2 separate regions of the Homo sapiens genome follow, and region 2 is linked to region 1. Evidence: promoter capture Hi-C in 16 types of primary human blood cells and fetal thymus (Javierre and others, 2016). All regions are on one chromosome and are shown on one strand. The core of a region is centred on a gene start or on the middle of the fragment in contact, and the rest is flanking DNA. Distances in the headings are between cores, read along the strand shown. Region 1 holds the start of B4GALT7 (beta-1,4-galactosyltransferase 7). Region 2 holds the start of KIAA1191.

Region 1 (5,966 bases), core at 1,351-3,850:
AACCCCATCTCTACAAAAAAAAAAAAAAAAAAAAATACAAAAAATTAGCCAGGCGTGGTGGTGGGCGCCTGTAGTCCCAGCTCCTTGGGAGGCTGAGGCAGGAGAATGGCGTGAACCCAGGAGGCGGAGCTTGCAGTGAGCCGAGATCACTTCACTGCACTCCAGCCTGAGCAACGGAGCAAGTCTCCATGTCAAAAAAAAAAAAAAAAGTATTTTTAAAGAACAGCTTTAAAAGTGCAGAAAAATTGTGAAGACATTTTCCCTATTAGTAACATCATGCATTACTTTATCCAGACTTCCTTAGTTTTTACCTACTGTCCTTTTTCTGTTCCAGGATTCCACATCACATTTAGTCACTGTGTCTCCTTAGGCTCCTTTTGGCTGTGACAGTTTCTTAGACCTTCCTTGTTTTTGATGATTCCTTGACTGTTTTGAGGAGTACAGGTCAGGTATTTTGTACGATTTCTCAGCTAGGATTTGTCTGATGTTTTTCTCATGATTAGACTAGAGTTGTGGGTTTTTGAAAAGAGACCACAGGCTGGGCATGGTGGCTCACGCCTGTAATCGCAGCACTTTGGGAGGCAGAGGCAGGCGGATCACCTGAGGTCAGGAGTTCGAGACCAGCCGCCAACATGGTAAAACCCCGTCTCTACTAAAAATACAAAAATTAGCCAGGCGTGGTGGCAGGCGCCTGTAATCCCAGCTACTCGGAAGGCTGAGACAGGAGAATTGCTTGACCCCGGGAGGCAGAGGTTGCAGTGAGCCGAGATCGTGCCACTGCACTCCAGCCTGACTGACAGAGTGAGACTCTGTCTCAAAAAATAAATAAATAAATAAAATAAAATAAAATAAAAAAGTAGAAAAGAGATCAGAGTTGAAGTGTCATTATCAACATGGCTCTTAGCTGGATATCACATTTAAAAATTAGATAATTTGGGTTTTCATTTGAGATCTGATTTCTTGAGAGTGTGAATCTGACAATCTGAAGTAGAGCTTCATCCTGATATAGTAACAGCTAACCGGATGGAGTGGTCCCCTTTAGATGGGCTGTGCATTGACCACGGTTCTGGGGTAGGATGCAGTGCCCTGGGGGAGTCAACAGGAAGGGGAATGGGTGGATTATATACTTCCAGGTTTACGGGGTAAAGGGGTTACTGGGAATGATTCATTTCCCACCCACGGTGAAGTTCTCTCTGGAGCAGAGTGATTAAGATCATAGATTGTGGGGAAGAACAAAACAAAAACCCCAAACCCATAGATTTGCAACCAAACTACCTGATTTGCCTCTCTGTGCCTCAGTTCTCTCAATTTTAACTTGGGGATAAGCACCTACCGATAAGGACTACGTGAGATAACCCTCATGTAGTAAGAACTATTAACAATGACTGGCACATAATAAGAACTTAATAGATGTTTGCTATCTATTAGGAAACTTAAAAGTTTGCCTGGAAGAGCAGAGGAGGTCAAGTCTAACAATTGCCGCTTTCTTTCCCCAGGTAGGAGGCTAGTAGGAGGGGTGGGGGGGCTGGGGGTGAGGGGGATGGTTAAGTTCCCACGGTGACGGGGCAGATATGGGAACTCAGTCTCCTATTCCCTTCTTCAGTTCTCAGCTCCACCAAAGTACCCTTTTCCTGGATGACAGCTGTCATTTATATGGCGTTGAACTGTGTGCCTAGCGCTGCACAAGTGTTTGCACTTTCTCCTTGAATCCCCACAGCTACCATATAGAATAGGAGCCATTGATATACCCAGGTGAGGAAACAGATGCAGAGATGTGGCTTGGTCAAAACACAGCTGAATTGGCAGAGTCTAGTTTCTTTTTCTTTTTCTTTTCTTTTTTTTTTGACGGAGTCTCGCCCTGTCACCCAGGCTGGAGTGCAGTGGTGCGATCTCGACTCACTGCAAGCTCCGCCTCCTGGGTTCACACCATGCTCCTGCCTCAGCCTCCCGAGTAGCTGGGACTAACAGGCGCCCGCCACCACGCCCGGCTAATTTTTTGTATTTTTAGTAGAGACGGGGTTTCACCGTGTTAGCCAGGATGGTCTCGCTCTCCTGACCTCGTGATCCGCCCGCCTCGGCCTCCCAAAGTGCTGGGATTACAGGCGTGAGCCACCGCGCCCGGCAAGCAGAGTCGGGTTTCAAATTCAGTCAACTTGTCTTCAGGGCTCGGCTCCTAACGCCTGCGCGGGCTGTCAGCTGAACTCAGCGCCGAGCCGTGAGCTTGGCTTTGCCCCTCCAAGCTTGCGCGGAGAACGCGCCGCCTGGGCCGAGACGGGGACCCCGGGACGCTCCCGCCTCCCCTCGGAAAGAGGACGGAGATGCAGATTCTCCCCGAGCGTTGGTTTGGGAGTCTGGACTCTTAGGTCCAGTCCCAGCCCAGTGATTTGTTGGGAGGCCCTGGGCCTCTGGGCTTCAGTTTCTCGGGCTTCCAGGCGGGTCCCGGGGCGGCTAGGAAGGAGCCGCCCAGAGAGGGAGGCGCGCCCGCGCTGCTCGCAAGCAGAACCTTGGAGGCGGCGGCTCCGGGAGCTGGCGGCGCGGCCGGAGCGGCGGACCCGGCGGACCGGGGGGCGGGGCGGACAGGCCTGGGCGGAGCGGGAGGCGGAGGCGCCGCGTAGGCCCGGGAGGCCGGGCCGGCCGGGCTGCGAGCGCCTGCCCCATGCGCCGCCGCCTCTCCGCACGATGTTCCCCTCGCGGAGGAAAGCGGCGCAGCTGCCCTGGGAGGACGGCAGGTGAGCGGCGGCGGTGGGCCCGGGCCCCGTCCTCCCGGGCGCCGCTCCCTTCTCGGCCGCCGGCGGAATCTGGGAACCCGAGGCCATCACGTCTCCATGTCTGCGGGTTTCTGTGAGGGCGTGTGGTTCTCCCTGTGGGTCCCTGGCGCTCTGTTCCGGTTTCTGTCTGTCCCTGTGGGTCTCTGCCTCCCCCGCCCCCTCTCCCTTTCCGCGGCACTCGTCCTTCCCCCAGCACCTTCCCCCCGGCCCGTGGGTCCGTATTTCTCCATTGACTTCCCTTTGTGAGTTTCTGATCCCCTCTTTGCTAGTCTCTCTCGTTATGTGTTTCGTTGTGTCTGTGTTTCTCCACCAGCCTCCCTCTATCTGCATGCGGGTCTCTGACTCCGCTGACCTCTCACCATGGATTTGTGTTTCTCAATTTGTCTCTGATCCCTGAGGACGTGTATTCCGTTTCTCTGGTCTCTGCCTTCCTCATCACATCCATATAGCCTCAGACCCTACCCTTCCTCCTTAACACTTCCCCCCATCCTTCGCAGGCCACCAGCAGAACCCACCAGACAGAAGCTCCGTGCTCTGCCTGGCTGGTCACTGCCTGGCACGTACTAGACACTCCTTATACACGCATTAGTCCATTTCCTGTGCAGCTGTATTGGCCCTACGTGAAAGATGCGAGCTTGGCCCACACCTTAGCTAATTTTGTTTCTCACTAAAGCAGAATGGGGAAAGCGATTTGACTGCCTCCATTCGTGGGGCACTTGAGATGTGTCCCTGTAAGTCTTCTCACAGAACACATGACTGGATCTCCTCCTCGTGAATGACACCTCATTTCCTTCATGTTTCTTAAGTCCGTCAGGTGCCATAAGATTCTGGAATTTAGTGGCCACAACTTGTACTTTTGGGGATTTTTCAGACTTGGTGTTGAAAGGGGAAAACAGGAATATAATAGAAAGCGTGGACTAGCGTTCGACCTGGGCAGGAGTCCTCCGTAATTATGTGAGCAGAGACCCCTGCATCTGTCCGACCGCAGCCTTTCCGTCACTGAGCCAGTTATGACAGTATTGGCTCTGCAGGGCTGTGTGAGGATTAAAGGACCGCACACATGTAAAGAGCATGGCACTGCCTAGCACAACAGGAGGTGCCAGTTGTCTTCCCGTTACCTTTGCAGTTTTGAGGTCCTGTAACCAGAGCAGCTGAGGATTCAAACCTCGTAGTACGAAGGTCTGTATGAGACAAGAAAGGAAAGGTAACAGAGGAGCATTTCTATTTCCTGATCCTTTTCCATAGCTGTTTCCAGAGAAATTTACTGATGTCAATTCTGTGCTTTTGACACAGGGTTGGTGCAAAGATCCACGCAACTGATGCAGGCTAGTGTAGCTATCTAGTGTAGGCTCTGGAGCCAGCCTGCCTGGGTTTGAATCCGCCTTTTACTAGTCTTGGGCAGTGATTGATGAGGGAGACAAAGCCTCTTCTGGACTGCCCCTCAGAGCCAGGGTGGCCTGGGCCTGGGAGCCACTGGGACTGCAAATCTGGTTTGCCACCTGGTGGCACCAGGAACAATTGTTCTCGGTGTCCACTGTCCTGAGGAATTGGGACTCTGGGTTCAATCCAGTTGCTCTGCGGTTTGTGCTCTTAGAGCACAGGATGATGCCCATGGGGATGTGGTCCTCATAGGAGAGGGGAGCAGGGCCGAGGGAATTAGCGTGTGGACGTGCTCGGAGTACCCAGTCCACGCCGTTCCCCTGGATAATAGTCACTGCTTCTTTTCATGAAGGTGGGATATCACCCCATATCCATCTCTCCAGTCTCTACCCTGTCCCCAGAAAAAGCCCAGAGGGCAAGGGAGAATCTGTAGAGGTTCCAGCCTTCCCAGACCACTCTCAGGACTGGGCTGTGCTCCTCCCCAGCTGAATCCACCACCACAGGATAATGGGGGGTAAGTCAGAAGCCCTGGGGGGTTTCCTACCAGGCCACCTCTCAGCTGCGTGTGGAACCTGGGCCTGGCTGCAAGGCTACTGGCTTCCAGGTTGGCGGTCTCTCTAGAAAAAGGGAGGAGTTGGTCTGGCTTTAGCATGTGACTTAAGGCATGCCCTGACTGCCTTACCCCTTTCTGTAACTCACTTGGCAAGCTCTCTGCTGTCTGGCCTGTGCTTGCTGTGCTGGGGCCACAGATAAGAATCTGACACGGCCTGAGAAGCAAGGACACAAGGCATTACAAAAAAGTGGGAAGATGCCGTGGGAATACAAAAGTGGGAGCATTATGGGGGCAGGGGGCAGTGCTGGCCATGACATTGGAGTTCGGCTCTGAAGGATCAACAGGGGTCCTCAGGCAGATAAAGAAGGACATTTCAGGCAGAAGGAGCAGGCTGTGTGAGGGCTGGAGCAGGAAGGAATATAGCAAGTGGAGAAGCTCCGAGGTGCCCAACATGAGAACATGGGGCGAAGGCTTGGGAGCACCTGGAGTTGGGGCCAGGTCATGGAGGGCTTTGACTGTCAGGCCAAAGGGCTTGGCCTTTGTCTGGCAAACAGAGGAGGGTCATTCAGAAGACTGAAGGGGTCTGAGCAGGGCAAGGAACAGATGAGTGAGGAAGGATCAGAGGGGGACTTAGGAGATAGAATTTATTTATTTATTTATTTATTTATGAGATGGAGTCTCGCTCTGTTGCCCAGGCTGGAGTGCAGTGGCGTGATCTCAGCTCACTGCAACCTCCGCCTCCCAGATTCAAGCTATGCTTCTGCCTCAGCCTCCCAAGTAGCTGGGACTATAGGCGCGTACCACCACACCCAGCTAATTTTTGTATTTTTAGTAGAGATGGGGTGTTACCATATTTGCCAGGCTGGTCTTGAGCTCCTGACCTCGTGATGCACCTGCCTCGGCCTCCCAAAGTGCTGGGATTACAGGCGTGAGCCACCACGCCTGGCCAGGAGATAGAATTTATAAGACCTGATAGCTAATCGCTGACTCTTAAGATTGTGAAGTGGATTCCTTTGCAGATTACTTTGGGGAGAAGGTAGGGGGAGTACAGAGGAAGCTTCTCCCTTCATGGATTCCTCAGCTCCTGTCTCAGCATACTCAGGAACTTCCAGAGGAGCGGCAAAGGAATCTGGTGAATTCTGTTTCTTTGTATTTGCTAACCAAAAGGCTGTCTCCTGGCATCACCCCAGTGTCTGTGATGTTCAGCTGTTTTTCCAGTTTCTGAAATCAGTGCCTGTGCTGTACCCAGCCCTCATCTTTCTTTC
Region 2 (5,966 bases), core at 1,946-4,445, 1.2 Mb before region 1:
AGCCGGGCGTGGTGGCAGGCAGCTGTAATCCCAGCTACTCGAGGCTGAGGCAGGAGAATCACTTGAGCCCAGGAGGCGGAGGTTGCAGTGAGCTGAGATCACACCACTGTATTCTAGCCTGGGCAGCAGAGTGAGACTCAAAAATAAAATAAAACTGGCTGGGCGTGGTGGCTCACACCTGTAATCCCAACACTTTGGGAGGCCGAGGCAGGCAGATCACAAGGTCAGGAGTTCCGCCGGGCACGGTGGCTCACGCCTGTAATCCCATTACCTTGGGAGGCCGAGGCGGGCGGATCACAAGGTCAAGAAATCGAGACCATCCTGGCTAACACGGTGAAACCTCGTCTCTACTAAAAATACAAAAAATTAGCTGGGCATGGTGGTGGGCGCCTGTAGTCCCAGCTACTCGGGAGGCTGAGGCAGGAGAATGGTGTGAACCCGGGAGGCGGAGCTTGCAGTGAGCTGAGATCGCGCCACTGCACTCCAGCCTGGGCGACAGAGCAAGACTCTGTCTCAAAAAAAAAAAAAAAAAAAAAGGTCAGGAGTTCCAGACCAGCCTGGCCAATATGGTGAAACCCCGTCTCTACAAAAAATACAAAAATTAGCTGGGTGTGGTGGCGGGCACCTGTAATCCCAGCTACTGGGGAGGCTGAGGCAGGAGAATGGCTTGAACCCAGGAAGCGGAGGTAGCAGTGAGCCGAGATTGTGCCGCTGCACTCCAGCCTGGGCAACAGAGCAAGACTCCATCTCAAAAAAATAAAATAAAATAAAATAAGCCAATCTAGTAAATCTAAATACTCGCTTGGTAGCAGAGATTAACCATTAATATATAGTTCCGATAAAATGGTTTCTGTCTAGCTTAAAACATTAATAAGGGCAAAACATGATTTTACCAAAAAGAATTAAGTTTACCAGGCACTTCTGGTTGTCTTGAAGCCATTGAAAGACTGGGATCCAGGTGCTTTTTCTATACAGAATTCCGAGCTGAGTCCCTGCCACCTAATAAAATAACAAAGGGCATTTTCTTATGGTGAGCAGCACCAATGCTGTTCTTCTGGCAGGCACACAGAATTGAACGGCTTGTTTACAAGGTTGAAACACACATGCAAGAGCCAGTGGGTGACAAACATGCCAATGAAAAAAGAAGGATAAAGTCAAACGTCTCACCACACCTGTGGCTGATCTTAACACCTGTGAGATGACAGAGCTAAGATGCCATACATGGTGAAAAAGTCACCTTACCACAGTGAAATGATGTGATGACTAAGCGGACAGACAGATGTTAATGAGGAACATGGTCCAGCTGCTGCAAAGTAGCAAAGCTTCCCAGGAAGAGTCCATCCAGAGGTTCTAATAACAACAAACAGCCAGCATTGGAACAGCCCGTCAGAGTCTGCCAAACACTTGTTTATTCCCCACAACAACCTTGCTCATTTCATTTTCTTAACTCACAGCAAGCGGCTAGATACTACAGTAGGGAAATTTGTTCTTTATAGCTAACACTATAAACTATTTACAGCGTTTATCTTGTCTTTTAATCCTTGCAGCAAGATGGCAAAGCAGATATTATTTATCCCAATCCCAATTTTTTTTTTTTTTTTTTTTTGAGACGGAGTCTCACTCTGTCGCCCAGGCTGGAGTGCAGTGGCGCGATCTTGGCTCACTGCAAGCTCCACCTCCCGGGTTCACGCCATTCTCCTGCCTTAGCCTCCCAAGTAGCTGGGACTACAGGCGTCTGCCACCACGCCTGGCTAATTTTTTGTATTTTTAGTAGAGATGGGGTTTCACCGCACTAGCCAGGATGGTCTTGATCTCCTGACCTTGCGATCCGCCCACCTCGGCCTCCCAAAGTGCTAGGATTACAAGCGTGAGCCACCGCGCCCGACCCCAGTTTTTTTTTTAAGCTATCTCTTACAGAAAGGCTATCCCAAATTTAAAGAGAAGGAAACTGGCCGGGTGCGGTGGCTCACGCCTGTAATCCCAGCATTTTGCGAGACCCAGGCGGGCAGATCACTTGAGGTCAGGAGTTCGAGACTAGCCTGGCCAACATGGTGAAACCCCATCTCTACTAAAAATACAAAAATTAGCCGGGCATGGTGGCGGGCGCCTGTAATCCCAGCTACTCGGGAGGCTGAGGCAGGAGAATAGCTTGAACCCGGGAGGCGGAGGTTGCAGTGAGCCGAGATCGAGCCACTGTACTCCAGCCTGGGCGACGGAGTGAGACTCGGTCTCAAAAATAAAAATTAAAAAAATTAAAAAAATGTTAAAAATAATAATAAAGAGAAGGAAACTAAAAATCAGAGGAGTTAAGTAAATTTGTCCACGGTCACAGATAAGTGGTCCGTGCGCAAGGTAGGTAGTTTCATGCCCAGTTTACAGGGGAGTTAAAACGAGGGCCTGAGAAAGTTACTCTTGTTTTTCAGCTTGCTACACCGTCCCTCTATCCCGATAGGACTCAGACAGAGCAAACAAGTTATTGATAGTTCTTCACTAACGAGCATCGCAAAGGCCGAATTCAGCCATCCTCCCAGTCCAGGGAGCATTCCCGCCCCAGACACGTCCCCTTCCCCTTTCCCTTTCCCTGTGCCCCCACCCCCCAGCTCACCGTCCCTCTGCCTCTCCTTCACAATATACAAGACGGTGCCGCCAGGATACGAAAGGCCGGCTGCTTCACCCACCCCTCCAGGCTAAGATTAGGGCCAGGACCCTAGCCGAAGGCGGGGTGTGGGGAGATGAGGTTGAGGACAAGCCGCGGGGGCTCGGGCTGGGCTGGTCCCACGAAGCGGAGGGGAAGCCCGTACGGGAGCTGCAGGGCATTCCCGGAGAGAAGCCCCATTACGGAGACCCCAGAGAGCGGAGCCAGGGAGGCAAGAGGCGACCCAGCCGAGCTCGAAGCCGGGATGAAGGGTTAAGAGGTGCGGGGAGAGGGGAGTGGCTTGGAGGGGCCCCGAGATCGGGCCTCGCCGGAAGCGCCCCTCCTGATCGCCAGAGAACGCAGCCCCAAGGGAGGGCCCAGGCCCGCCATCTGTTCACCTGTGATCCTGCTGCCGCGGGACTGCCTGCGGCCCGGAGTCCGGCACTAAAAAGGTTCCGAGGGCCCACGTCTCCCGAGAGGCTGTGGCGCAGTCTGGACCCAAGCCATTGTGAGAGCGGCGGCGATTTCGAAGGTCCCCAAGACCCACTAGGTAGCAGTACCACCCAGCGGGCAGGCAGCACTGCAGATAAAGCCTCCGGAGACCGCGGGATCTCGCGCGAGACTTGGCCCAGCGGAGCACAGGGCATGCTGGGAGTTGTTGTCCACGATCGCGAGACCCGCCCCCTCCCCATGCCCTTCGCCGCCCAGCGAGTTGTGGAGCCGCAGCTCCGAGTGTGGAATCCGCCAGCCCCGAGAGGAAACGCCACACTTCACCACCACTTCCTCAGCGCGTGTGCTGTGCCTGGGTCCGTGACAAGCTAAGGGAAGACGGAGGTAGCATAGTAAAATGACACCCACAAACCCAAGCCCTCAAGGCTCAAAAAGGGCTGCCAAGTGCGAGCACTTGTCATCCTGTTTTTCCCACTTCACGGAGGTGAAGCTGAGACTGGGAGAGATGAGAAGTCACTTCGATTAGCAAGCGGTGCAGTGAGCACGGACTGTCTCCCAAAACAGCGGGGTTAGGCAGGGTTCGTACTAGTAGCTGAACCAAAAAAGGGAACCGACCTCACCTGCCTCCCCTAGGGAAGGCGATCCTAATATCATTTCTCTTTTACATAAAGGAGAGTGAGGCTTAGAGGCGCCAGCTGAGGTGTCAGTCACATCCTGAAGGAAGACTTCTCTTATCCCTGAAGGGTTCACAAAGAAGGCGAAGCAACGAAGTTACAGCAGAATTTGCAAAAATCTATCCACGTTTCTACCCCAGTCCAAAGCTCGCCATCAAAACTCATCTCAGGAGAGCTATGATTGGTGGTGCAGGGTGAATGTCACATTTAGATTTCAGCATTTGAGGCTTCCAGCCGTACTGGCAGAACTGAGAGGCCTTGCTCATGCGACTTGAAACTTAAGCGCTGTTTCCAGACCAGGGTGCTTGAGTGCACTAAGAATTAAAGTCTTTGATGAATTCTATAATTAGCTTATCAACAGCACAATTACATTGCAGTATAATTGTGTGTATATGTGTGCGTGCGTGTGTGTGTTAAAGGTGTTCCTTTGTTAATTTGGAGCTTTTAAAATATGCCATATTTTTTAACCTCTGTGGAAGCAAAGCTGGCACCTTGCTCTTTATCCACCACAGGAAGGGATGTATATCACCTCTCAGTCAGAAAAGGAAGAAATAGCACTTTGCACCCTTATGTAGATCATAAGGTGGGATCATCTCATTTATTTCTTAGCCACAAATACATGAAAACTTAAGACTTTCCTGGAAGTTACTATTTGATTAAAACAACTTTTTCTGGCTGGGCACGGTGGTTCAGGCCTGTAATCCCAACACTTTCAGAGGCTGAGGCGTTCGAGACCATCCTGGCCAACACGGCGAAACCCCGTCTCTACTAAAATACAAAAATCAGCCAGGCGTAGTGACAGGTGCCTGTAATCCCAGCTATTCTGGAGACTGAGGCAGGAGAATCTCTTGAACCTGGGAGACGGAGGCTGCAGTCTGCCTTGTCCTAGGTACCCCCAGTGACTGCCAAGGCTTCCACGTGTGTAGCACGAGGAGGAAGAACAGGAGAAACGACCTGAGTACAGCAGTCGGGTTCTTTTGGCTCTCCAGAGGGGTGACGCCATGTACGGCTGGCTGTAGGGTACATGGGTTGAGAGACCGCCTGTGGCTCTCAGGGCCCAGCAGGGCTACCTCTTTCCCTTTATATTGTCTCAACTCTTCACCTCCTTTTAGTTCGCGATTCCTCTGTACCCCTGGCTCTGGGTCCCAGCCCCTATTCCTTCTGATTTGTCCCCCTTTCCCTTTGACTACATATATATGCTCCTCTCCTCCCAGATAGTGATGTTTTAGCTACATCTTATTTCTTCCGGCATTGATTCTTTTGAAAAATTTATTTCTGGCTGGGTGTGGTGGCTCATGCCTGTAATCCCAGCACTTTGGGAGGCCTGAGATCACACTACTGCACTCCAGCCTGGGCTACAGAGTGAGACTCCATCTCAAAAAAAAAAAAAACTTTATCCCTGATATTTGTGGTACCAATGTCTGAAGCTGTCATGGTCTTGGTGCATAGCACCTATGTGAGAGCACCTATTTCTTTTCCACAAATAATAGACTGTAAACATTTTTTTTTTTTTTTTTTTTGAGACAAGGTCTCGCTCTGTTGCCCAGGCTGGAATGCAGTGGCGCAATCTCGGCTCACAGTAACCTCTGCCTCCCAGTTTCAAGCGATTCTCCTGCCTCAGTCTACCAAGTAGCTGGGACTACAGGCGCCTGCCACCACGCCCGGCTCCACGCCCGGCTAATTTTTTGGATTTTCAGTAGAGATGGGGTTTCACCGTGTTAGCCAGGATGGTCTCGATCTCCTGACCTCGTGATCCGGCCGGCTGCCTCGGCCTCCCAAAGTGCTGGGATCACAGGCGTGAGCCACCGCACCAGCCAAACTTTTAATCTTAGCAATTTTGTGGGTTTTCCCCTCTAAGTGGGTGTATTTTTGAGGAGGAGCTAATTTTTTTTTCTTTTTTTTTTTTTTTGAGACGGATTCTTGCTCTGTCACCCAGGCTGGAGGGCAGTGGCGCAATCTCAGCACACTGCAACCTCCTCCTCCTGGGTTCAAGCGATTCTCCTGCCTTAGCCTCCTGAGTAGGTGGGATTACAGGCACGTGCCACCACGCCCGGCTAATTTTTGTAGAGATGGGGTTTCACCATGTTAGGCAGGCTATTCTCGAACTCCTGACCTCAGGTGATCCGCCTGCCTCGGCCTCCCAAAGTGCTGGGATTACAGGCATGAGCCACCACACCCGGCCAGAAATAAATTTTTCAAAAGAATCA

The links. Contacts are between HindIII fragments. The CHiCAGO score rates a contact against its expected background, and 5 or more counts as called.
Region 2: a contact is called between the fragment with the promoter of KIAA1191 here and the fragment with the promoter of B4GALT7 in region 1, in 1 of 17 cell types (neutrophils). The highest score is 8.6, in neutrophils.

Annotation. Positions count from the first base shown.
Region 1 is chr5:177,597,532-177,603,497 of GRCh38, forward strand. B4GALT7 (beta-1,4-galactosyltransferase 7) reads left to right here and starts at 2,601. Exons shown (of 6, transcript NM_007255.3): 1 at 2,601-2,729. The coding sequence starts at 2,680. RefSeq lists enhancers at 1,754-1,853, 2,054-2,233 and a silencer at 2,414-2,953. The HindIII fragment of the contact is 3,518 bases long and covers 2,239-5,756 here.
Region 2 is chr5:176,358,569-176,364,534 of GRCh38, forward strand. It overlaps KIAA1191, which reads right to left and starts at 3,196. Exons shown (of 9, transcript NM_020444.5): 1 at 3,034-3,196; 2 at 1,243-1,350; 3 at 913-999. The coding sequence starts at 940. RefSeq lists an enhancer at 2,952-3,271. The HindIII fragment of the contact is 14,901 bases long and covers 1,321-5,966 here.